7 separate regions of the Homo sapiens genome follow, and regions 2, 3, 4, 5, 6 and 7 are each linked to region 1. Evidence: promoter capture Hi-C in 16 types of primary human blood cells and fetal thymus (Javierre and others, 2016). All regions are on one chromosome and are shown on one strand. Each heading gives the region's core, a stretch centred on a gene start or on the middle of the fragment in contact. The rest is flanking DNA. Distances are from core to core; before and after follow the strand shown.

Region 1 (3,343 bases), core at 1-2,500:
TTTGGGGCTCAGAGGCAATGGCAACATCACATTTGTCCTTGTGAGATGAGTTTGAGCGGTGGCTGACACCTGCCCTGTACCAGGTACTAAATGTGGTTCTGGGGATACTATCACCAGTGAGCTGCCCTGGAAAGCTCATTGTCGGCAGAGGAAACAGGAGAAAACACGCAACAATACAGTATTCCAAACAGCAGTGGGTCACTGTCTTTACTTTAGGATTCATAAAGCCTGTTAATGAATGGGTGTGCTGGGGGCACTGTCATGTTCTTCAGCATGCTGCCTGGGCGACGAGGAGGCCCTTCCTAGGGTCTGACCTGGCTTCCCTTCCCAGGTGGGTGCAGGTGGCATGTCCACGTCTCTCCATTGACTGGGGCACAGCCTTCCCCAAGCCGCTGCTGACACCCTATGAGGTAACACCAAGCTCTGGGAGAGAGTGGGCTTTGGACGTGGTTCTCAAAGGTGAGGTCTGGAGTGGAGTGGGGTGGGTGGGCAGCACTTCGTTATGTTCGTAGATTCCGGAGTCTGTCTCGATTTCTCCAGCGGAGTCACTTCCTAGCTGTGTAGCCTTAGGCAAGGCCCTGAACCACACAGTTCCCTTCTGTGGCAGGGGACAGTGTGCCCTTCACAGGCCGTCGTGAGGACTGAATTCAGTAATCCAGGGGCAGAAAAACACTGGCAGATGTTATTGTCCCTCCCTCCCCTCCCCTAGGCGGCCGTGGCTCTGAGGGACATTTCCTGGCAGCAGCCCTACCCGATGGACTTCTACGCTGGCAGCTCCTTGGGGCCCTGGACGGTGAACCACGGCCAGGACCGCCGTCCCCACGCCCCGGGCCGGCCCGCGCGGGGGAAGGTAGGCGGGGGCTTCCAGGAGGGAGGAGAGACCGCGCCTGGGCACTGGCCGCCGCCCTGCGACCGCGACGGGAAACGCACAGGAGCGGAGCGGAGGGAAACGCAGGGTCGCAGGAGCGAGACCCTAACCAAAGTCTGCGACCTCAGGTGCAGGAGGGGTCCGCGCGTCCCCCTTCGGCCGTGGCTTGCGAGGACTGCAGCTGCAGGGACGAGAAGGTGGCGCCGCTGGCTCCTTGACGCGCTCCCGGGCCTCAGGTATCAGCCCCCGCTCTGGGTGCGCCCCGCCTTTTGCCGTTGTCATGGGAACGCCTTGGCGCTCCGAGGCCCGCCCTCGGGGCGGTGCTGACGTTCGGTTCCGCCCCGTGCATTGTGCTTCCGCTCGGGGAAAGACCGCTTCCGGTGCTTCCGTCGCTCCTTGCCGGGCATAATGGCCGCGCAGCGACCCCTGCGGGTCCTGTGCCTGGCGGGCTTCCGGCAGAGCGAGCGGGGCTTCCGTGAGAAGACCGGGGCGCTGAGGAAGGCGCTGCGGGGTCGCGCCGAGCTCGTGTGCCTCAGCGGCCCGCACCCGGTCCCCGACCCCCCGGGCCCCGAGGGCGCCAGATCAGACTTCGGTGAGACAAGCCCCGCTCCGGAAACGCACTCAGTTTCCTCCATCTTGTTTCGTCCCCCTCGACACCCTTCAGCATCCCCCACCCTGCGTCCACCCGCATTCCTCCCACCCAGTCCACACCCTTCATTTCTCGCGACCCATACCCTCTTTGCTCAAACTGCAGCCTGTCCTCCCAGGCTTCCGCCTTCACCGTCTTCCTCCGCTGTCTCCTGTTCAGGCCAATCCACTCATTTCCCCCCTCTCATTTCCCCCAGACTTTTGCCTCGATTCCCTTTTTCTCTCTGTCATCTCGAACCCTCCTGCCCTTTCTCATTTCTTTCCTTCCTGGAGCCTCCCATGCCCTAATCCCATCCTTTTTCCTCATATCGCTGTAGGGTCCTGCCCTCCGGAGGAGCAGCCTCGAGGCTGGTGGTTTTCAGAGCAGGAGGCCGACGTTTTCTCCGCATTGGAAGAGCCCGCCGTCTGCAGGGGCCTGGAGGAATCACTGGGGATGGTGGCACAGGCACTGAACAGGCTGGGGCCTTTTGACGGCCTTCTTGGTTTCAGCCAAGGGGCTGCGCTAGCAGCCCTTGTGTGTGCCCTGGGCCAGGCAGGCGATCCCCGCTTCCCCTTGCCACGGTTTATCCTCTTGGTGTCTGGTTTCTGTCCCCGGGGCATTGGGTTCAAGGAATCCATCCTGCAAAGGCCCTTGTCATTGCCTTCGCTCCATGTTTTTGGGGACACTGACAAAGTCATCCCCTCTCAGGAGAGTGTGCAACTGGCCAGCCAATTTCCCGGAGCCATCACCCTCACCCACTCTGGTGGCCACTTCATTCCAGCAGCTGCACCCCAGCGTCAGGCCTACCTCAAGTTCTTGGACCAGTTTGCAGAGTGAAAGATCAAGAAATGTCTCTGCTCCTACATCCAGCTCCTCTAGGGGCAGCCTCCGTCATCCATGCCCTCCCAGGACCCTCCACTCACTGCTGTGAGTGCGCCTCACCAGAACCAGTTAAGAGACAACTATCAATTCTTGAGACCCAAATTATAAGGGCCCTGCCCTGTACTGAAGAAAAGGGGAGCACAAGGCCTTAATGGACATTGACTTGTGAAAACGCAAACATGAATATGGTTGGAGAGCCCTGGATTAGGAGGGTGACATGGGGAAGGCAGAGGCTGGCACCATGGTGACTGCCACATAATAAAGTGGTGATTTGGATTTTGAGCATCTTTTTCCTGGTACACACAGAAAAACATTTTATAATGGAAGTCGGTTTCTTGGCCATCTACATAGTTTTCTGGGCAGCGCCAAGCAGGGAGGTGTCTCCAGTTGTGAGTCCTCGGACAGGCTGCTGCATGGGTGCACATACTCACGTTATTGGTGGAAGTTTTAAGTCCCAAACTGAAGGGAAGGAGGCCTAGGTGGCACAATCAGGGAGGAATATACATCTGAGAAGTTTTGGGAAGACATCACCTGGCAAGGCTGCCTGAACCACAGTAATTTAGTCTTCCTCTATCCAGATCACTGAGAGTTGTGTGCTGGTCTTCTCTCAAACCCTGGATGTGTTACCTGCTTCTCCCTAAGTGCTCTAACCTCGCTGAACTATGAGCCTGAAGGGTGGGTCGATGCCAGACCTTAGGTGGAGGCCAAAGACAGTACAGAATAAACAGCTTCTTCCTAAATTGACCCCATCTTGAGGGTTTCTGAGATTGATGCCATTCTTTAGTGACTACAGCCAAGGCCTAAGCAATCCAGCTGGTTTTCCCCTTGGGGCGTGTAGTTGTTCTTGGATACTTTGAGGATTGCTCACTCTTTTTTTTTTTTTTTTTGAGACAGGCTCACTCTGTCACCCAGGCTGGAGAGCAGTGGCCAAGATCCTGGCTCACTGCAACCTCAGCCTCCTGGGT
Region 2 (3,343 bases), core at 789-3,288, 380 kb before region 1:
GGCTCCGTTGATGGGCTTGGTTGTCAAGTTCCCTTCAAAGGTCTAGAGGAGGACGGCATTCGTTAGCATGGCCTACACAACACATCCCCATCCTGCCTTCTTCCCAGCATGTGTACACACTTAGCCCATTACTCTCCCACAGCCATGTACAGAGTCCCGCACCTATACACTGCTGCTAACACTCACCTTGTGAATAGTCACTCTGTAGACGTTGGTGTCATCCACAAACCAGATAATCTGGTTGGAGAAGAGCTCACCATAGTTCTGAGAAGACAAATAAGGCTCAGTGGGTTCAGATGAATAGAGCTGTAGCCCCTTGCGGATCCGTTCACGTAACACATACAGGGCAGGGTTTGCCTTCATGATCTTGGCCATGGCCTGTTGTATGAGAGGCTTGCTGCCTGGGAACCAGTTTCCATAGGCACTGTGAGGATAAAAGGGTCAAGAAAAGTTAAGACGAGAATGACAGCCCCAGAAACAAGACAAGCTGCCAACTCTACAGAGGAAGAAAGACTGTTCGCCAGGCTGACAACACTCTGCTCATGTGTACATACAGGCTGGAGAAGAGAATCAGTGACCCATAGGAGGAATGGGCCACTTCCTCTCACTTAGGTAAAGTAAAAAAGTATGACTACGTTAAAGTATGGAGCTAATGGAAAATACACGGATTATTTATTTATTTATTATTATTATTATTTTTCTTTGAGATGGAGTCTCACTCTGTCGCCCAGGCTGGAGTGCAGTGGCGCAATCTCGGTTCACTGCAAGCTCCGCCTCCCGGGTTCAAGTAATTCTCCCACCTCAACCTTCTGAGTAGCTGGGACTACAGGCGTGGACCACCACGCCCAGCTAATTTTTTGTATTTTGGTAGAGACAGGGTTTCACCATGTTGCCCAGACTGGTCTCAAACTCCTGAGCTCAGACAATCTGCCCACCGCGGCCTCCCAAAGTGCTGGGATTACAGGTGTGAGCCACTGCGCCTGGCCTGAAAATACATGGTCCTGAGCCTCAACTCACCTGTGCAAGTTATAGGCCAGGTCAATGGCGATGAGTACACCTGTGGGCGAAGGGTAGATACTCATGTTGTCGGTGGTGTAGTCCAGGAACTTGGCCCGGGCGTAGCGCTCAATGTCGTGGGAATCATAGTCCCCCCAGCGCAACTGGATGTCAATCCAGTATTTCTGGGTGGTGGTGCTGTCCATCACATCCCTGAGGATGAAGAGGGTTCAAGCTTCTAAGAAACCATGGGCATAACCAATGTCCCCAGAACCAGAACCACTTAAATCCCAAAACCATCCCACCCACTCCACCAACTTGTTCCAGGTCAGCAGGACCCCAGAGAATCAGCAGATCTGACTAAGGGTGTTGACAGGCTCCAAGCGTAGCACTGGCTCCAAGTTTGAAACAAAGGCAGACAGGACAATTCCTAAAGTTGCAGGGCTAGAAGAACAGGAAAACGAAAGTGTCCTGGCTGCCTAGGGCTGGGTCCTGAGGCACTTACTTGGAGTCAGCCAGCAATGAGGGCCGGGAGACATTCCACTTATAGGAGGCAAAGAGCAGGATATCTGCACAGGAAGAGTTCATCTTATATGACTTTCGGGGATGGATTGTCTCCTTTTGTACTGTCTCAATTTCCAGTGCATCAAGTTCCTGGTCAAACACCTGAAGGAAAACATGGAGAGATTAAGACTTGTTAAGGAAGCCCAATTAAAATCAGAGTTTGTACAATAAGATAATGAGGCAATAGGAGTCTCATCCTCAGAGCTTCCAGGGTGGATTTCCCATATGCAAAAGAGCAAGCTGAGCTGACTCTGTACAGCACGCTCTCCCCGCGATTCCACCTGAGCTGACTCTGTACAGCACCCTCTCCCCGCGATTCCACCTAAGCTGACTCTGTACAGCACCCTCTCCCTGCGATTCCACCTGAGCTGACTCTCTACAGTACCCTCTCCCCACGATTCCACCTGAGCTGACTCTGTACAGTACCCTCTCCCCTCGATTCCACCTGAGCTGACTCTGTACAGTACCCTCTCCCCTCAATTCCACCTGAGCTGACTCTCTACAGTACCCTCTCCCCTCGATTCCAGCCCACCTGACATAAGTCCATAACAATGCTCTCATGGATCTTCTGCCACAAGTGAGCTCGGAAGATCTGGATGAGAGAGATCTTCAGCGTGGGGATCTTGCCGTGCATGAAGATACCCGTCAGGTCTAGCTGCACCTGAAAGCCTACATATACCTGCCAGGAAAACGACAATGTGACATTAGAGATCAAGAGACTCGGGCGCTCACGACATAACCAAGGCAAGAAGCAGCAACTGTCTTTAGCTTCCCCTCTCCAGTGTCAATCACACTCACATTGGCTCGATTAATGGTCGGGGACCACCAGAGGGTGAATCTACGATTGGGAATCTGGTTCAGTCCTGATCGCTGAGCATTAGTTAGCTTCTTCCACTTCATAGATTCCTCAAAGCCACTGGCCTTCTCCCTGGGGAGCAAGAGAAGCAGGTGAGGTGATATCCTGCCATTTCCCAGCACACTGCTAACCTCCTGGAGGTGGCTGTCTGGGAAACACCACAGGAAATCACAGAGGCATACAAGAGATGAGCTCAAAGGGTTGTGACAGGTCCCTCTAAGAGAGGAGAATCCTCACCAGAAAAGCCCCTCCCAGGTAGGGAAGTAAGTGCCCTTAAAGAGTGTGTGTTCCAGAATGCCTTCCACACCGCCCAGGGCCTGGATCATGTCTGTACGGTAGTTGTTCAGGTTCCAGAGCTTCCCATCATGCCGCTGGTGTGTCCACCAGAACGGATTCTGCTTCAAAACCTAGATGGCAAGGCAGGCACGGTCAAGCTTCTGGGTGCCTATTGCCCCAAGTTTCGGGGATAGCCATGGATTTTCCTGACTCAGGGAAAATCTGCTCCCTCTACATACCTGATACTGCTTAAAGTCAGTTCTGACACGCCAGCCCTTATCATAAGCCAGTGTGTGCCGGTCCTTCTGGAAGAGGGTATTGATTCGAGGAATGCCACGATCCCATGAATCTTCTAGGTCTTCTAAAGTCAGGCGTCTTCCAAAAAAAGAAAGATTCAAGTCAAAACGTGATCTCATATGAGGAGCTCAGCACTCCTTCCTGGCCAAAAATAATTAGGGTCAGTAGAACCAGCCTTCTCACCTCCATACAACCATGGCATGCTCTGACCCTGAACTCCACACGGTTCAAAGGCCACCACTGCCCCTGCCCCAGGGTTGGCATGCCCTCCTAGGTGCCCACCTGTTCTGAGCAATGGCCTCTTGCCTCTTGAGTGCGTACTCAGCCCAGACCCGCTGAGAATCAATGAACTCG
Region 3 (3,343 bases), core at 348-2,847, 360 kb after region 1:
CGGTGGCTCACGCCTGTAATCCCAGCACTTTGGGAGGCCGAGGTGCATGGATCACTTGAGGTCCGGAGTTCGAGACAATCCTGGCCAACGTGGTGTGGTGAAACCCTGTCTCTACTAAAAAAAAAAAAAAAAAAAGGAAGAAAAAAGAAAATTAGCTGGGCGTGGTGGCAGGCGCCTGTAATCCCAGCTACTGGGGGTGGTTAAGGCAGGAGAGTCACTTGAACCCGGGAGGTGGAGGTTGCAGTGAGCTGAGATGACACCACTGCACTCCAGCCTGGGCCACAGAGAGAGACTCCGTCTCCAAAAAAAAAAAAAAAAAAAAAAAAAAAGGGTGGGGGAGGCTGTTTCTGGACCTATTGTTGCCTACAGGAGCCTGAAAATGGCCAAAAACAATACCTCATCAACCAAGCTTTCCCCAGTTGAGGAATGGACAGTGGGGGTGGGAGATACCTATAAATGGCGATGTGAGGGCATGAAAGAAGAGGGGAATGAATAGGAGGGCTGTTTAATATTTTAGCCCCAGCTTCCTGTTCCAAGGGGGTGGAGCCAGGATAGAAGCTGGCAAATGTACTCACTCAAGAGAAAGAGAAATAAGTCCTTTTGGTTTCAGCAGAAAGGTTAGCAGGTTTGGGGAATTATCCAAAGGCCAGCAATCTCTAAAAAGGTGTTCCTTAAGTTTCTTTTTCTTTTTTTCTTTTTTGAGATAGAGTCTCCCTCTGTTGCCCAGGCTGGAGTGCAGTGGTGTGATCTTGGCTCACTGCAACTTCTGCCTCCCAGGTTCAAGTGATTCTCCTGCCTCAGCCTCCGGAGTAGCTGGGATTACAAGCACGCACCACCACGCCCGGCTAATTTTTGTATTTTTAGTAGAGACGGGGTTTCACCATGTTGGCCAGGCTGGTCTCAAACTCCTGACCTCAAGTGATCTGCCTGTCTTGGCCTCCCAAAGGGCTGGGATGACAGGCGTGAGCCACCGCGCCCGGCTGTTCCTTAAGTTTCTTCATGGCTTCTGGGTGCTTAGTACCTTGGAGCAGGAGAAAAGCTGGGCTGTCCATCATTGTGAGTTTCTCACGAGAGGGTTTCCGTTTTCAGTCTTCCTCCCCGAGTCTTGTGCACCCCACCTCCCAGTTCAAATTCCATTATGTCCTCCAATTTTTTAATCTTTTATTCTTTTTTTCACCAACCACAATAAGAAGCACCAATTCCCCAATTTTTTAATATGCTGAGCCAGAGACATCCCCTTAGTGGAACTGTCTTCCTATCCCCCACCACTCACCTAACAAAGTATCAACTCCAAGAGCTATGAAAATCAGTGCCCTGACTCCTACAAAGCCTGAGTCATGAGATGGGGGAAAGGGCGTGAAGCCGAAAGTACAGATGTTCACAGGAAATCCCAACCCTTCAAGCCTGATGTCTCATCTTTTGCAAGCAGCTAAGGAGCTTTTCACATACCATCATTAAAACAAGACCCATGGGAGGAAGCTGGCTGCAGGATGAAGAGGAAAAAACAGAAGACTAGTACACTCAAGACATACCAGAGAAGATCCATTTCATAAATATTTATTGTGTGCCTGAGGTGCCAAGCACTAGGCTAGGTATGCTGTGGCCAAGGCCAGGGGACCTCTGGTAAGCCAGAGCGGGGCAAAAGCAAACAGAGCGGAACTCCACTCCACTGTGATAACTTGCAAAAGATTAGTTCTGCTGTTCGCCACCGTGCTGGATGCAGCACCAGAGACAGGACGACACGAGGACCCAGAGGGCGCCGCCATGCTCATTTCAGAAGGTGCAGCCTCCGTGTCCGTGGGTCCGCACCCATGGAGGCAACTAACCGTGGATCAAAAATATTCAGGAAAAAAAAATGGAAAATATACAAGAAAAAATAATACAAATTTAAAAACCAACACAGCACAAGAACTATTTACACAGCATTTACATGGTATGAGGTATTTGAGTAGCGCAGAGATGAGTTAAAGGATACCTGAGGATGTGCATAGGTTACATGTAAGGGATTTGAGCATCATCCATGGACAGGTATTCAGGGAGGCTCCAGGAACCAATCCCCATTGGACAGTGAGAAGCAACTGTAATTCCGTTTTTCTATGTAGAGATAAAAACAAATTCAGTGGATTTAAGGCTGGGCCAGTCAACTGAGCCTGATTCCCCCAGTCTGAATGATGAGTGGGACTCTGAATTCCTTTGACAGAGGTGGACCCATTCAATCATCAGTGAAATGGGGTCCCCACAGCCAAAAGTTTCCACAGGACTCTTTACCTCCTTTCCCCACCCCAAGTGAGTTGTCAGAGGACCTCTCCTGAACTCACAGAACAGGTCCAATCAAGTTCCACCTCCCCATTCATGTCCTTTCCAGAAGCTGGGCGCGGTGGCTCACGCCCTAAGTTCCAGCTACGTGGGAGGCTGAGACAGGAGAATCGCCTGAGCCCAGGATTTCAAGGCCAGCCTGGGCAACATAGCAAGATACTGTCTCAAAAAAAAAAAAAAAAAAATTGCAGCCTCACATGATGTCATAGCTGGAAGAGCTGGGATCATGGGGTCTGACCTCCCAAGAGAAGGTGTATCCAAGGTCACAAAGCTGCCAAGCATCAGCTAGGTTGAGAAGTGGCCTGGTCCTCCTCTTTGGCTGGCTGGGCCAGGCCTGGGGAAGTGCTATCAGTGTGGGGTGTTGAGTCCCTGAAAGCCTCCCAGAAGTGGGTGAAGATGGAGAGGGAACTCCACCCCTCCTCGTTAAAGACAGGAATAATCATTCACTTTGCTTAGTGGTCCCCAATAAACAAGCTTAGCAGATAAGCGGGAAGACAGGGAAAGGGAATCAGACTTGGGATCCAGGAGCTCGCAGGACCCTGTTCTGCCCCAGGCCACTCAGGAATGGAGAGCTGCTAGCTGGACCTGGGTAGGTCACCATTACTCACTGGGGCTTTTGTCTGGCATGAAAGGTGACGGGAGAAAGGGGCAGATTTTTATCCAGGCAGCCACCGTGGGTGTGGACACTGAGTAATAAGGAAAGAAATGCAGTTCAGAAGCAAAGAGGGAGGAGCCAGGTCCTCTGAGCTCTTCTGAGAAACCAGAGCCCAGTCGAGCTCTGCAGCTAGAGTGGCAGCTGCGGATGACAGTGGGTCAGAAGCTTGGTGGGAGGAGGCTGACCCAGCGGAAAGGCACAGGAGACGGATGACGATGTCAGGGATTCCTTTAAAGGAAAAAAGAGGTGGCTTTATGACAGCAAAACTAATTCAGGTCAAGGGAGTGGGACTGGGCAGAAGTTATGAGTAAAGCCGGGTGGAGTCTTGCCATGGGAGTCAAGAGTCCGCTGGATCACGCAGGGGTGGGGACA
Region 4 (3,343 bases), core at 467-2,966, 360 kb before region 1:
CCCACCACTCACACCCAGCCCAGCCTACTCTGCCCAACCTTCAGGTAGTTGTGCTGCCGCTCCTGTTCTGCCTTCAGATAGAGCCGGGTGAGGCGGCCCAGATTCTTTTTACAAACAGTCTTGTCCACAGTGGCCCCTCGGCGGATCCGTTCTCGGTTGTAGTGGGCAGTGTTGGTCCACCAGTCAGCCTTGGCCTTCACGTATCGAAGGATCATATTCTCTATGGGCGTCGGCAGCCCAGGGACCTAAAAGTCCAAAAAGCACAATCAAGCCAGGATCCAGCCAGGCACTGTGGCACACATCTGTAGTCCCGGCTACTCAGGAGGCTAAGGAGGATCGCTTGAGCTCAGGAGCTTGAGGCCAGCCTAAGCAACATGGTGCTTCTTTTCCCTGTCTAAAAGGGAAAAGAAAAGAGATTGGAGCCAGATAGCCCCCTAATGATTCCCGAAGTGGTAATCCTACCCTAAAGACGGATGTTTACGCCTCCAAGGAAATAAAGAGACACCCACCTTCCAGGGAATGTTGGCTTTCCAGCAGCGCCAGGCTTCACTGAGGTGCTGCAGGATTGTCCGGGCCTTGTTCTGCTTGATCCCCTCAGGCATCATGTCCAGAATATCATGCATCACAGCTGCCCGCAGCTCAAGGTCAAAATGTGACTCCACTCGCTGCTTTGTTACTGTCTTTGCCACCCCCTTTGAGTGTCGACCTGGAAGTAGAGTGTCCCAAGGGGATTACAAGGAAGATTCCTTGCTTTCAATAAGGGTCTCTACCTTCATGCTCCTCACTCATTATGGTTATTAATAAAATTAGGTATTAACAAAGCGTCCCTGTGCCCAGCATATGCAAAAAGACGAGCTACCTTAAACATTCACAACTATGCTTCTGAGGAATTTCCACTCCTGCAAATGCATGACTGCCTCTCAAGGCCCCAGAAGGAAGCCCAAGAAATAGAATACTAGGTCAGACTCATTTCAGAACTGGACCTAAAGGCAATCCAGTAGGAAGAGTGCTCATACAAGAGCAGGGAACAGACTCAAACAGGGGCAGGTACTTTTGAAGCAATAACAGGAGAAGTTGGACACAGAGAAAACCACTCACCTTCAAACTGCCGGGCCAGGAGGTTGCCAAGCCATCGCTCTAATAAAGGGGTAATGCCACGCATGAAAAAGAGCCAGACTCGCCAACCGGCAGCCCAGAAGCCACAGCCAGGACCCTTCCCTACAGGGCCCTACGATCCCAAGCAGAAGTTAAGAATACAAGTTAGCAATGCATTTAAACAACAATAGAAACCTGGGCAGAGGTGGGGCATATATGTATAATATACATACAGAGGAATGTAGGTATGGCAGTAGAGGGGTAAAAAGAAAAAAAAACTCTGGGACCTCAACATCTAAAACAAAAGGGTAAATGAGAAACCTTAAGGCAAAAACCAGGAACTAAGATCGCCCATGTGAATTTAAAGGAGCAGTAAGGACACAGTCATAGCTGCTCTCCAAATAGGTCCCTGGAAAGAGCCCTGTCTAAATGTATACATGAAAAAAGATCTGAGAAAGTTAAGTCCAGTGAGGCTGGGCACGGTGACTCACGCTGGTAATCCCAGTACTTTGGGAGGCCGAGGAGTGTGGATCACCTGAGGTCAGGAGTTCAAGACCAGCCTGGCCAATACAGTGAAACCCCATCTCTACTAAAATTTCAAAAACTAGCCAGGCATGGTGGTGCGCGCCTGTAGTCCCAGCTACTTGGGAGGCTGAAGCAGGAGAATCACTTCAACCCGGGAGGCGGAGGCTGTGGTGAGCCAAGATCGTGCCATTGTACTCCAGCTGGGGCAACAGAGAAAGACTCAGTTTCAAAACAAAACAAAAAAAAAATTGCCAGGCGTGGTGGCGGGCACCTGTAATCCCAGCTACTCGGGAGGCTGAGGCAGGAGAATTGCTTGAACTCAGGAGGCGGAGGTTGCAGTGAGCCAAGATCGTGCCATTGCACACCAGCCCAAGAGACAAGAGTAAGACTCTGTCTCAAAAAAAAGAAAGTCAGTAAAGTCAAGGTCTCACCGTGTTGAAACGATAATAGATGAGATGCTTCAGGTCCTTGCACATGCGAATCTGTCGCATCAGCTTGTATTTGTATCGATACATGCCCGTCAACTGCCCAACATGGGCAAATATATACTGCAATCCATCTGCCAGCTGCAATACAATTGCCCCATCAGACCTGGAGCTTAAACCAGCTCCACGGTCAGCACAGGCTTCCTCCAGCGTCCTCACCCAGGCAGGGGTTGGGAATACCTAACCTTACCTGGAAGGCATCCACATTGCCCAGCCGATACTGCACGTGACTATCCACCACCAGCTTAGTCAAACGCAGAACTTCCCGACACAGGTGGAAAGCATTCCCAAAACGAGATTTCTTTCTTTCCTGGAGAAGATGCAAAAAACAGACAGAACGTGAATGAGCAATGGACCCAACTGATGTATGCCTTCATCAGTAACCAGAGGAAAACAACTGTCCGTCCTTGAAGCCCAGGAGGCCCCTAGGGTCCAATGCAGGCACCTTGGTGGTGAGCGTTTTCACAGGCTTGAGGTTGAAGTTGTAGTCCAGGTGCAGGTAGTTGAGGTTTTTGCGGTGAATGAGAAGGTTGAGCATGTTGTAGCCCTGGCGGCAAACCTGGAGCCCAACCTCCACCCAGTCCAGCTTTGTGGACTGAAAGAATTTGGTGGCTTTGAAGGAGCGGAACAAATACCTGAGGTGGGAACATGGAGAGTAAGAGTCAGCCTACTGATATCTCTGGAACAGAAGTCTGCGCAGGGCCCCTGGGGCACCTTACCTCTTCTTTTGAGCCTTAGGGGGCCGATGCTTCAGGGCATTCAGCACATAGTACTTAAGCAGCTTCTGGTAGGAGACCCTCACTTTCACAGGCTGCCCGGCAGGACAATGCTCCCGATACCTGGAAAAATAAGCCCACCAGAGTTTGGCCATCTCTTCTTCCAGACACTCTGCTAAAGGCTGCAAGCCTTGGGTTGTCTACCATTTTTATGGGAAAAAAAAAAAAAGAATTTAAAAAAAAGGCTACATGCCCACCTAGTTGGAGTCTTTTCTCCTACACATCCACTATCATTCCCCCTGCCACAGGGAAAAACCTTACCAGTTCTTGACAAGGGGTATGTCCAGGGCCCGACGGGTGCGACCAGAGCGTAGGTTGAAGGGCCGCGGGGCCCAGAGCAGGGCAATGCCATTGGCTGTATTGTCTGTATAGAGGGGTGTGTCCTTCAGGAAGGGCTCCACAAACTCCGGGAGCTCAAATTCCTCATCATCATCCGGCAATGGTTCCTGGCTCTGAAAAAGG
Region 5 (3,343 bases), core at 844-3,343, 330 kb before region 1:
ACCCAGGCCTGAAGAAAGAGGCTTCCACGCAGTCTGTGGGGCTCCCCAAACACCTGACCTTTATGCTTTTACCTTTATCCTGGGGCCCTGAGCAGCCTTGAAACAACCCTTCCATAGATGGAACCAGGCTTGGCCCAGGGAGGGGCTGTCTCACCCCCTAATACCCCCTTAACCTCCCATTCCTGGGCTTGCTTGCTTTTTTTTTTTTTTTTTTTTTTTTTCGAGACAGACTCTCACTCTGCCACCAGGCTGGAGTGCAGTGGTGTGATCTTGGCTCACTGCAACCTCTGCCTCCTGGGTTCAAGCAATTCTCCTGCCTCAGCTTCCAGAGTAGCTGGGACTACCGGTGCGCGCCACCACACCCAGGTAATTTTTGTATTTTTAGTAGAGACGGGGTTTCACTGTTAGTCAGGATGGTCTCGATCTCCTGACCTCGTGATCCACCCGCCTCGGCCTCCCAGTGTGCTGGGATTATAGGCATAAGCCACCGTGCCTGGCCTAGGGCTTTCATGCCCCATACCCACACCCTATACCAGGACACCCCCTTCTCAGAAAAGCTCCATATTCCACATTTCTGTGATCAGCTGGACACCTGTGGGGGCACCCAAACTCCTTAGGCTCACATGGTGGGTGCCCTGGCATGGTGGGTGCCCTTGTATGGTGAGTGCCCTGGCATGGTAGGTGCCCTGGCCTGGTGGGTATCTGGACTCCCCAGCTGTGGCCAGCAGCCACCTCCTCCCCCTAACTCAGCCTAAGACTGGGAGCCAAGCACCAGCTGGGGGCAGAGACTGTGGGAAATTATAGGACAGCAAAATGAAGAGAGGGCCGGGGGCGGTGGCTCATGCTTGTAATCCCAGCACTTTGGAAGGCTGAAGTGGGCGGATCACCTGAGGTCAGAAGTTCGAGACCAGCCTGGCCAACATGGAGAAACCCCGTCTTTACTAAAAATACAAAAAATTACTTGGGCGTGGTGGCGGGTGCCTGTAATCCCAGCTACGTGGGAGGCTGAGGCAGGAGAATTGCTTGAACCCAGGAGGCGAAGGTTGCAGTGAACAGAGGCCGAACCACTGGACCCCAGCCTGGGTGACAGAGTGAGACTCCGTCTCAAAAAAAAAAAAAAAAAAAAAAAAAAAGAATGAGGAGAGACTGGGAACCTCGGGCTGGACAGGGCTCCCCTCCTCCCTTCCTGTCTGGCTTCTGCCCTCAGAGTCTCACCACCAAATGATGACAGAGAAGATCCCAGGTCTTGCCCAAGGTCTGGTTCCACAGCAGGTCAGCTCCGTCTGCCAGGAAGTAACCTGTGGGCATGGGGGTAGGGGTTAGGCTGCTCCAGAGCCCGGGCAGCTTAGAGAGGATTTCCAGCCCCCCCGCCCCGCCCCTCTCCCAGTTCTTAGTTTTCCCTTGGTAAAGCCTTCAGGAACGTTTAACCCCCATGGGGGCGGGGAATGGACCTGGAAGGACAGCAGAACCTGCCCCCCGCCCCATCCCCACCACCGGCCCAGCCTTCCCTGCAGACTCACCCACAGACACAGCCACCAGCACCAGAGCCCAGCGCGGGTGGCCATGGATGGGGTCGGCGGCCATCTGAGGGTACAGTGACAGGCTGGGGGCATGGGGTGGGGACATGGGGGGGGGCATGGTCAGCCTCTCGAGGCCCCGGCCGCAGTCTCCCTGTGCGCACCCCCACCCCAGTCTCAGCTCTGGAGACGCCCGGCGGGTCTCCCGGCCTCAGCCTCCCACCCCTCGCCCTCGCCCCGTGCGCCTCGAGCCCCCAAGCCCGCACCCGAGCAGCGCCCCGGTCCCCGAGAGCAGGCTGTGCGCCAGGGAGACGCAGAGGTTCCACCACTGCCAGCGGTCCCGAGCGGCCGATTCCGGCGTGGGCAGCCGCCGCAACCCCCAGTGCAGCCCCCGGAACGCGAGGAAGGAGGCGCCGGCCACCAGGAGCCCCGTGGGCGCCATGGCCTGGCGGTTGGGGGGTTGCGGGGAGTCCGGGTCGGTCCCCTCGGCGCCCGCGCTCTCGGCCGGGACTGGGAACCCGTTTCCCGGCAGGGCTGGGGCCCCGGCTCCCCTCCCCGCCGCGCCTTTGGGATCAGCAGGAACTTTTCCCCGTTCGTCCACGCCCAGTCCCTCGCCTGGGCGGTGATTGGAGCAGCCGCGGGGCCGCCGCCCCCGGAGCCTTGGCCACCGATTGCGTCTTGCTCCAGCCGGGGGAGCGGTTCGGGGGCTCCGGGCAGTAGACCATGCCCTGGAGCTCGGGGGGCCTCCGGGATGTTCGCCAATAGGGGTCCTCCCCAGCTCCAAGCGTCCTGAAGCGCTGGAGTTGCAGACCTGGGTCTCCAGTCTAACCTCAACTGACACTCCCGGGCCCCACCCACGAACCTTGACCTCTTCCCGGCTCCCGCGACTTTCACCTGCTGAGCGTCATCACCACCCACCGCCACACCCTGCAAGGCAGAGGCTAGCGCAGCCCACTCGTACCTGCCCGAGCCTGGCCGCCGCCCCCACTTCCCTCCCCGCGTCCGTGGTGGGGACGGGGTGCCCCACTTTCTTGGAGCCACCCCTTCGGCCTCCTGAGGTTTCCACGCCTTTACCATATCCCGGCAAACCTGTAATTCCAGCAGTTCTGCTCCCCCTCCCCCACAACCCCCAGGAGACCCCATGTTGGAGAAGCGACCCACTGGGCCCCGCCCCGACCCCCAGCATTGTTTTCGGCCCTACGGAGGAGCCTCATTAGGAAGAGGACGCAAAAGGGAATCGCTGGCCCCCAGTCTTGAAAAGCACTTCCTTCCCCAAGGGCTTGGTACCCGTTGGGTGGGTAGAATATCTTCAATCCGAGGGCAAGGAAAGGTAACACAGGGTCCCTTCAAGGCTGGGACAGAGTCAGAAGAGAAAAACAGACCTGTCCTGCTCTTAGTAGCAGGGCGGTTAGGATTCCAGAACCCTCCAGCCTTAAGAGGAAGAGCCTCCCCCAGCCCCTCACCACCTGAAGAGCCCCAGGTTGCACTGCTTTCCTTCCACCTTACTCCACTCCACCTCTTCAGCTGGCAGACAGTCAGCAAGTCAGAGCTGTTTCCTGCAGGCTGAGAGGGAGGATTCCAGCTACTTCAAAGAATTAAGTTCATAAACCAAGAGGTGCCCCAACCAAACCTTCTCACCAAAAAGCTGAGGTCTTCCCTTCATTCTTCTACCCCCACCTCTCCAAAGGTTTAAATAATAACACTGATCTCTTAAATTATATTATATGAAATACAAAATGTGGAAAATTTGGAAATTACAGAAAAACCAAAGATGAAAATTACAGTGACTTTGTTCCACCATACAAAGATAACCACTCAACATTTTT
Region 6 (3,343 bases), core at 633-3,132, 320 kb after region 1:
CTCCACCCACTTCTGGGGCAGCCTTGGATCGTCTCTCCAGTGCACCCTCTTCCTGTCCCTGTCGGGGAGAGGTCCTGCTGAAAGCCAGCTCTTAGAGGCTAGCTGTAGAACTGTATCTGAACCAACAGGGTGAGGAGTCAGGAACTGACCTAGACCCAGCACCTCCTGAGAGCCAGACCCCGCATGGGTGATTTCACATCCTCCGTCTCATGTGACATCTCACACTAGCCCTCTTCCCATTTCACAGAGGATACAACTGAGTCTCAGAGCAAGTGACCGTGCCAAGCTCAGACTTTGTTCTGTCTGACTGTCTCCAGCACAGCTCACTGTTTCCAGTCCGTGTGAAAAAACCACCTCCTTCTCCCCTCAGTGTCCCTGCCCCCAACCAGACACACCTGGACGTGGCAAAAGGGGCTCGGGCCGAGGCTTGGAGCCCTGGGTCCTCATCCTGGTGGCTCTGCCATGTTGTGACTGTGATCGAGTTTCTTCCCCTCTTTGGGCCTTTCCCTCCTCACCTGTAAAACTGTTAGTTTGGCCCAATCATGTAGAAGCTTCTCCGCCCCACACACATACACACTCCTGTCTTTAGAGTCTGTCTGGGCACAGGGCAGCTCCCTACTGTCTCCTACCAAGCCCTTCTTTTCTTCCTGCAGGGTCTGTCTGTGGAAAGTCCAGACAGAGACTAAGCCTAACCCTAAACCATGAATGAATGGAGGGAAGCCCTCCTAGCATGGAAAAGAGAAATCTCTCCCTCAGCTGCTGGGCTCATCAGTCCAGCGGCCACTGTCGGGTCCAAGCTCTGCAGTGACTTCATCAATATTTTAGCTCCTGCAGAGCCCTGTTCCTTAGCAACCGCATCCTCCGTGCCCTCCAGAAAGGCTCCCGAGTCGGGTGTTCCTCACATCCCCGTCCTGTAGGTGCTGTGCCTTGCTGTCAGGTTTGGAGCCACTCATGCCACCCTGAATGGGGAGCTTTGGTCCTCATGACCCCCAGGGGTGAGGCTGCATATAGGAGGTGTGTGCGCACCAGGCGAGGGAGAGGGACAGCTTGGCATGTCAAAGCTCTTCGCCCCGGGCAGGAGCCGAGGGACGGGGAGGGGAATTTTGGAAGGAAGCCAGGGTATCTCCCTGGCCTGCCCTTGGCTTGCCCTTACCCCTTGCCTCACCACAGGTATGGGGAAGAGGAGCTTTTCTTCCTGCTCCCCCGTCTTTCCCAGGCTCAGATGCCGTTTCCCTTTGTGGCCTAGGTGCAGTGGAGGCTTGCCTCTTGCATCAGCTGAGACGCCGTGCCGCTGGCTTCCTGCGCAGTGACAAGATGGCAGCCCTGTTCACCAAGGTGGGGAAGACGTGCCCAGTGGCGGGGGAGATTTGCCACAAGGTACAGGAGCTGCAGCAACAAGCAGAGGGCAGGTGAGCCCTGGGCCAGCCCCTTCTTCCCTCCTTTCAGCTCTTCCCACTTGGCAATTGCTACTTCCTAGGACACCCATCGGAAAGTTGGCATCCTGGGCCTGTTCCTTGCAGGGCCTCTGGGTGAGGGATCAGCTTGAGGGAGGGGATTGGTTCCTTGTGGGCACAAGGCTCTGTACCCCTCCTTCACCTCCCAACCCCAGTCAGTTCTCTGTGCTCCCATCTTGGGGTACCAAGCCCCACTCCCAATGCCAGCATTCTGGGGTTTACCCCTAGACCACTGCACTCCTGGAGCCCTCCCCGCCTTTGCAGGAAACCCTCAGGGGTCAGCCAGGAGGCCCTGCGGAGACAGGGCTCAGCCAGCGGGAAGGCCCCGGCCCTCAGCCCTCAGGCCTTGAAACACGTATGGGTACGCACGGCGCTCATCGAGAAAGTTCTGGACAAGGTCGTGCAATACCTGGCGGAAAACTGCAGGTGACCGCCCCGTTCCCCAAAAACTGCAGGTGACCACCCCGTTCCCCCCAAAACTGCAGGTGACCGCCCCGTTCCCCAAAAACTGCAGGTGACCGCCCCGTTCCCCAAAAACTGCAGGTGACCGCCCCGTTCCCCCCAAAACTGCAGGTGACCGCCCCGTTCCCAAAAACTGCAGGTGACCGCCCCGTTCCCCAAAAACTGCAGGTGACCGCCCCGTTCCCCAAAAACTGCAGGTGACCGCCCCGTTCCCCAAAAACTGCAGGTGACCGCCTCGTTCCCCAAGCAGCCCCTCCCTTGACCCGTCTCCCGACGTCCCTCAGCCCCAGCCCTCAGGATGCTTGCCTGTCCGTGACAGCCTGTAGGCAACCCTCCATCTCCCCGTCCCCTTCGGTGCCCTCAAGGCATTGGCCATACCAGGCACCTCACGAAGCCCAGTCCCTAAGGACTCACTGTTTCTTGATGACTGATCTGAATCTGGTCTTTGTGGGGATGTCCCTACCTGGTGAGCTTGACTGCCCTGGAATGAGCCCCGGAGCCTCGGCAGTCACACTGTCTGTCTCCTGGCAGCAAGTACTACGAGAAGGAGGCACTGCTGGCAGACCCTGTGTTCGGCCCGATCCTGGCCTCTCTTCTAGGTGAGCCTGAGAGCACAGGCACAGTGGGTACGGGGCAGGTGCTGAGGGAGCATCGTCTGGGCTGGCTGTCTCTGTCTCCACAGTGGGACCCTGTGCCTTGGAATACACTAAGCTCAAGACAGCCGATCACTACTGGACTGACCCCTCTGCTGATGAGCTGGTCCAGCGGCACCGCATCCGGGGTCCACCTACTCGCCAGGACTCCCCTGCAAAGCGCCCAGCCCTGGGGGTAGGTGCCCCCTCCCCACCCTTTGGGCTCATCTGGGCTATGCCCATGGGCCTGTAGGGACGGGAAACCGGCCTCTCTACGGGACAGGCCTTGGAGATGCCCCAAGGTAGCGGCTGCCTCAGAAGAGCCTTCTCCGCACAATAAAACTTAACACAAATGCCGGGAGCCCATGCTGGTCCGTGGCTGGAGAGCAGAGGGTGGCTGGGAGTAAACCGGGGCAGGAAGGACCCCTGGGGTCAGCTGGAGAGGGTCAGCATGGAAGCGTGAGGGTTCCCAAGCCTTGAGGCCAGTTTCCCAAGGCTGGAGGCTGAGCCCCGGCCTTCCACACAGATCCGGAAACGGCACTCAAGCGGCAGCGCGTCGGAGGACAGGCTGGCTGCCTGTGCCCGCGAGTGTGTGGAGTCCCTGCACCAGAACTCACGGACGCGGCTGCTCTATGGCAAGAACCACGTGCTGGTGCAGCCGGTAGGAAAGCTTCATCCTGCCATCCCTCCCCGAAGGTCCCCGAACGAGACGACTGGAAGCCTCTAGCCATGGCTATTCCTTTCCTGAGGAGCTTGACCAGAGACGGGGGGGAGAATGGCCCCAGCCTCCCAACT
Region 7 (3,343 bases), core at 618-3,117, 270 kb after region 1:
CAAGGCTATTCATTACATCATTCTTACAGCCAACAACAACAAAAGGAAATCCAAATGTTCATTTGAGCTATGTAAACTTAAAATTATTATTTTTTCTTTTTCAAGAGATAGGGTCCTGCTTATGTTGCCCAGGCCACAGTACAGTGGCTATTCATAGACGTGATAATAACACACTCCCGGGCTCAAGCAAGCCTCCCGCCTTAGCCTCCCAAGTAGCCGGGACTACCAGTGTGTGTCACTGCCCCCAGCTAAATTATTGTATTTTTGTAAAAGAAGTACTATTAAGTCATTTTAAAAGTTGGATAAAGCCGGGCGCAGTGGCTCACGCCTGTAATCCCAGCACTTTGGGAGGCTGAGCCAGGTGGATTGCCTGAAGTCAGGAGTTCGAGACTAGCCTGGCCAACATGGTGAAACCCTGTCTCCACTAAAAATAAAAAAATTAGCTGGGTGTGGTGGCAGGCGCCTGTAATCCCAGCTACTAGGGAGGCTAGGGCAGGAGAATCGCTTGAACCTGGGAGGCAGAGGTTGCAGTGAGCTGAGATGGCGCCACCGCACTCCAGCCTGGCGGCAGAGCAAGACTCTCTCAAAAAAAAAAAAAAAGTTGGATAAATGGGCCGGGCGTGGTGGCTCACGCCTGTAATACCAGCACTTTGGGAGGCCGAGGCGGGCGGATCACCTAAGATCAGGAGTTCAAGACCAGCCTGGCCAACATGGTGAAACCCCGCCTCTACGAAAAATATAAAAATTAGCTGGGTGTGGTGGTGGGCGCCTGTAATGCCAGCAACTCAGGAGGTTGAGGCAGGAGAATTGCTTGAACCCAGGAGGCAGAGGTTGCAGTGAGCCACAGTCATGCCACTGCACTTCAGTCTGGGTGACAGTGAAACTCCATCTCAAAAAAACAACAAAAAAAAAATGTTGATAAATGTACTCACCTATGAGATTCATTGATATTCATAATACTGTCTGACAAAAAAAGAAGTTACCAAACCTACCAAAGAGTTTTGTCTGCATATGTAGTTGGGCCTGGAAAGGTAAACCACTGGATAGCAACTGTCTTTAGGTAGGAAGGTTTCGTGGCTATTTTCATGTTCTTTTTGTATCTCTGTATTTTCAGATTAACTCAGTTTTCTAATGAATATAGATTCTTTTGTAATAAGGAAAAATAGAGAAACTTCATATTTAACTGCTACAATAGACACAGTGGAAAGTGGAAGCTTAATGTAGTTATTGAAAATTATGAAAATTGTAAAGAAACTGAGTCAAATGTAGGAGCAAATAAAATGTTTGCTTTAACTGTTACATAATGTATATTGAGAATGCAGAAGGAGCCGGGCGCAGTGACTCACGCCTATAATCCCAGCACTTTGGGAGTCTGAGGCAGGCGGATCACCTGAGGTCGGGAGTTCGAGACCAGCCTGCACAACATGGAGAAACCCCGTCTCTATTAAAAATACAAAATTGGCCGGGTTTGGTGGCTCACGCCTGTAATCCCAGCACTTTGGGAGGCCGAGGCAGGCGGATCACGAGGTCAGGAGATTGAGACTATCCTGGCTAACACGGTGAAACCCCGTCTTTACTAAAAATACAAAAAATTAGCCAGGCATGGTGGCAGGTGCCTGTAGTCCCAGCTACCAGGGAGGCTGAGGCAGGAGAATGGCGTGAACCCGGGAGGCGGAGCTTGCAGTGAGCCGAGATCGCGCCACTGCACTCCAGCCTGGGTGACAGAGCGAGACTCTGTCTCAAAAAAAAAAAAAAAAAAAAATTAGCTGGGCATGGTGGTGCATGCCTGTAATCTCAGCTACTCGGGAGGCTGAAGCAGGAGAATCGCTTGAACCTGGGATGTGGAGGTTGTGGTGAGCCAGGACTGCACCAGTGCACTCCAGCCGGGACAACAGGAGTGAAACACCATCTCAAAAAACAAAAAAAAAGAAAATGCAGAGGGAAATAAAGAAAATGAACATAGTTATTTAAATGGAATAGTCTAGCTATTTTTTCTTTATCAAATAATTTGTTAAATTTTTATTAAAAATTAAAAATTTAAATTTATAAATTAAAAATAATATAAAAATTGAATCCAATTCATTCAAGTAGCTTCACAACGATGATTAAAAGAAAGGTGGAGCTGGGCACGGTGGCTTACACCTGTAATCCCAGCACTTTGGGAGGCCGAGGCAGGCGGATCACGAGGTCAGAAGTTCAAGACCAGCCTGGACAACATGGTGAAACCCCGTGTCTACTAAAAATATAAAAATTAGCTGGGCACGATGGCACATTCCTGTAATCCCAGCTACTCGGGAGGCTGAGGCAGGAGAATTGCTTGACCCGGGAGGCGGAGGTTGCAGTGAGCCGAGATTGTGCCACTGCACTCCAGCCTGGGCTACAGAGCGAGACTCCGTCTCAAAAAAAAAAAAAAAAAAAGGAAGATGGAGACCAGTGGCAGTGCCAACAGTGCCAAGAGATGGGTGGTGTGGGTGGGGAGTGGGCTTTAGCCTTCTGTAATCACCATCAGTTACTTCCCTCAAAGCTTCACCAGAAAAACTTCGTTCAGCTTTTAAGTCAACTCTCTTTTAGGGAAATTCTGACACTCCAATAATGGAGAATTTCCACATGACACCACAGGCCCCAGGTCTATTCTGTTACGTATTTTCAAAATCTCTTCAATAAACATACTGTCTCAGACTTTGCTTTGACCCCTTTCTTATTCCTGGGTTTCAGAACCATGTGTGCTCAGTATTGCATCTCCTTTGCTGATGTTGAAAAAGCTCATATCAACATTCGAGATTCTATCCACCTCACACCAGTGCTAACAAGCTCCATTTTGAATCAACTAACAGGGCGCAATCTTTTCTTCAAATGTGAACTCTTCCAGAAAACAGGATCTTTTAAGGTAACAATCCTTTTTCTCAGTGTATCATGTATGTTTTCACACCCTTTCACATATCAGTTTGATTCTCCTGACCACCCAATGAGATAGGCAGAAGTAAATTAATGCCTTTATACAGCTGGAAAAAAGGTTACAGAAATTTTCCTTTCAAGTCCTTGTTTTACCTAGCATCATAGTGTTGATAAGCAACTTTTACACAGTCATAAATCCTTATAATTAGGATAATATATATAACTTATCCGAGTAATTTTTATATATATGTATGTGCATATATATAATATATACATAAAATACAGTCATATGCCACATAACGTTTCAGTCAATGACAGACCACCTATATGATGGTGGTCCTTGGTCCCATAAGGTTATACCACACATTTACTGTACGATTTCTGTGTTTAGATACAGAAATACTTCTCATTGTGTTATAGCTGCCTACAGTATTCAGTACAGTAACAT

The links. The method cuts DNA at HindIII sites, captures the fragments that hold promoters and counts their contacts. A CHiCAGO score of 5 or more calls a contact.
Region 2: a contact is called between a fragment that was not itself captured here and the fragment with the promoter of OVCA2 in region 1, in 4 of 17 cell types (naive CD8 T cells, naive CD4 T cells, fetal thymus and 1 more). The highest score is 6.9, in naive CD8 T cells.
Region 3: a contact is called between a fragment that was not itself captured here and the fragment with the promoter of OVCA2 in region 1, in 1 of 17 cell types (endothelial precursors). The highest score is 7.2, in endothelial precursors.
Region 4: a contact is called between a fragment that was not itself captured here and the fragment with the promoter of OVCA2 in region 1, in 5 of 17 cell types (total CD8 T cells, naive CD8 T cells, naive CD4 T cells and 2 more). The highest score is 9.0, in total CD8 T cells.
Region 5: the fragment with the promoter of TLCD2 here is called in contact with the fragment with the promoter of OVCA2 in region 1 in 1 of 17 cell types (fetal thymus); the score reaches 6.2 in fetal thymus.
Region 6: a fragment that was not itself captured here is called in contact with the fragment with the promoter of OVCA2 in region 1 in 1 of 17 cell types (endothelial precursors); the score reaches 5.4 in endothelial precursors.
Region 7: a contact is called between a fragment that was not itself captured here and the fragment with the promoter of OVCA2 in region 1, in 4 of 17 cell types (activated CD4 T cells, total CD8 T cells, naive CD8 T cells and 1 more). The highest score is 6.1, in activated CD4 T cells.

What each region holds. Positions count from the first base shown.
Region 1 is chr17:2,040,772-2,044,114 of GRCh38, forward strand. OVCA2 (OVCA2 serine hydrolase domain containing) reads left to right here and starts at 1,251. Exons shown (of 2, transcript NM_080822.3): 1 at 1,251-1,460; 2 at 1,834-2,654. The coding sequence starts at 1,277. The coding sequence ends at 2,333. It overlaps DPH1 (diphthamide biosynthesis 1), which reads left to right. Exons shown (of 13, transcript NM_001383.6): 10 at 332-410; 11 at 710-850; 12 at 997-1,104; 13 at 1,834-3,127. The coding sequence ends at 1,086. RefSeq lists silencers at 754-843, 1,354-1,553 and an enhancer at 1,104-1,163. The HindIII fragment of the contact is 21,411 bases long and covers 1-3,343 here.
Region 2 is chr17:1,658,340-1,661,682 of GRCh38, forward strand. It overlaps PRPF8 (pre-mRNA processing factor 8), which reads right to left. Exons shown (of 43, transcript NM_006445.4): 26 at 3,272-3,343; 27 at 2,932-3,067; 28 at 2,654-2,823; 29 at 2,359-2,488; 30 at 2,093-2,239; 31 at 1,502-1,662; 32 at 1,018-1,209; 33 at 187-424; 34 at 1-42. Among named protein-coding and RNA genes, the nearest start is that of RILP, 10 kb to the left of the region's middle. The HindIII fragment of the contact is 1,619 bases long and covers 1,230-2,848 here.
Region 3 is chr17:2,404,032-2,407,374 of GRCh38, forward strand. LOC284009 (a long non-coding RNA gene) reads right to left here. Exons shown (of 3, transcript NR_028335.1): 3 at 2,950-3,199. Among named protein-coding and RNA genes, the nearest start is that of MNT, 4.6 kb to the left of the region's middle. The HindIII fragment of the contact is 2,381 bases long and covers 408-2,788 here.
Region 4 is chr17:1,676,467-1,679,809 of GRCh38, forward strand. PRPF8 (pre-mRNA processing factor 8) reads right to left here. Exons shown (of 43, transcript NM_006445.4): 9 at 3,143-3,333; 10 at 2,825-2,944; 11 at 2,551-2,740; 12 at 2,296-2,415; 13 at 2,052-2,186; 14 at 1,099-1,228; 15 at 510-706; 16 at 39-245. Among named protein-coding and RNA genes, the nearest start is that of PRPF8, 6.7 kb to the right of the region's middle. The HindIII fragment of the contact is 3,942 bases long and covers 1-3,343 here.
Region 5 is chr17:1,708,284-1,711,626 of GRCh38, forward strand. TLCD2 (TLC domain containing 2) reads right to left here and starts at 2,094. Exons shown (of 4, transcript NM_001164407.2): 1 at 1,784-2,094; 2 at 1,521-1,603; 3 at 1,216-1,298. The coding sequence starts at 1,959. MIR22HG (MIR22 host gene) reads right to left here. Exons shown (of 3, transcript NR_028505.2): 3 at 3,221-3,343. The HindIII fragment of the contact is 21,928 bases long and covers 1-3,343 here.
Region 6 is chr17:2,360,391-2,363,733 of GRCh38, forward strand. It overlaps SGSM2 (small G protein signaling modulator 2), which reads left to right. Exons shown (of 24, transcript NM_014853.3): 3 at 1,247-1,409; 4 at 1,719-1,880; 5 at 2,448-2,515; 6 at 2,599-2,744; 7 at 3,075-3,209. Among named protein-coding and RNA genes, the nearest start is that of SGSM2, 25 kb to the left of the region's middle. The HindIII fragment of the contact is 2,667 bases long and covers 550-3,216 here.
Region 7 is chr17:2,312,842-2,316,184 of GRCh38, forward strand. SRR (serine racemase) reads left to right here. Exons shown (of 8, transcript NM_021947.3): 2 at 2,716-2,887. The coding sequence starts at 2,720. Among named protein-coding and RNA genes, the nearest start is that of SRR, 11 kb to the left of the region's middle. The HindIII fragment of the contact is 1,310 bases long and covers 1,213-2,522 here.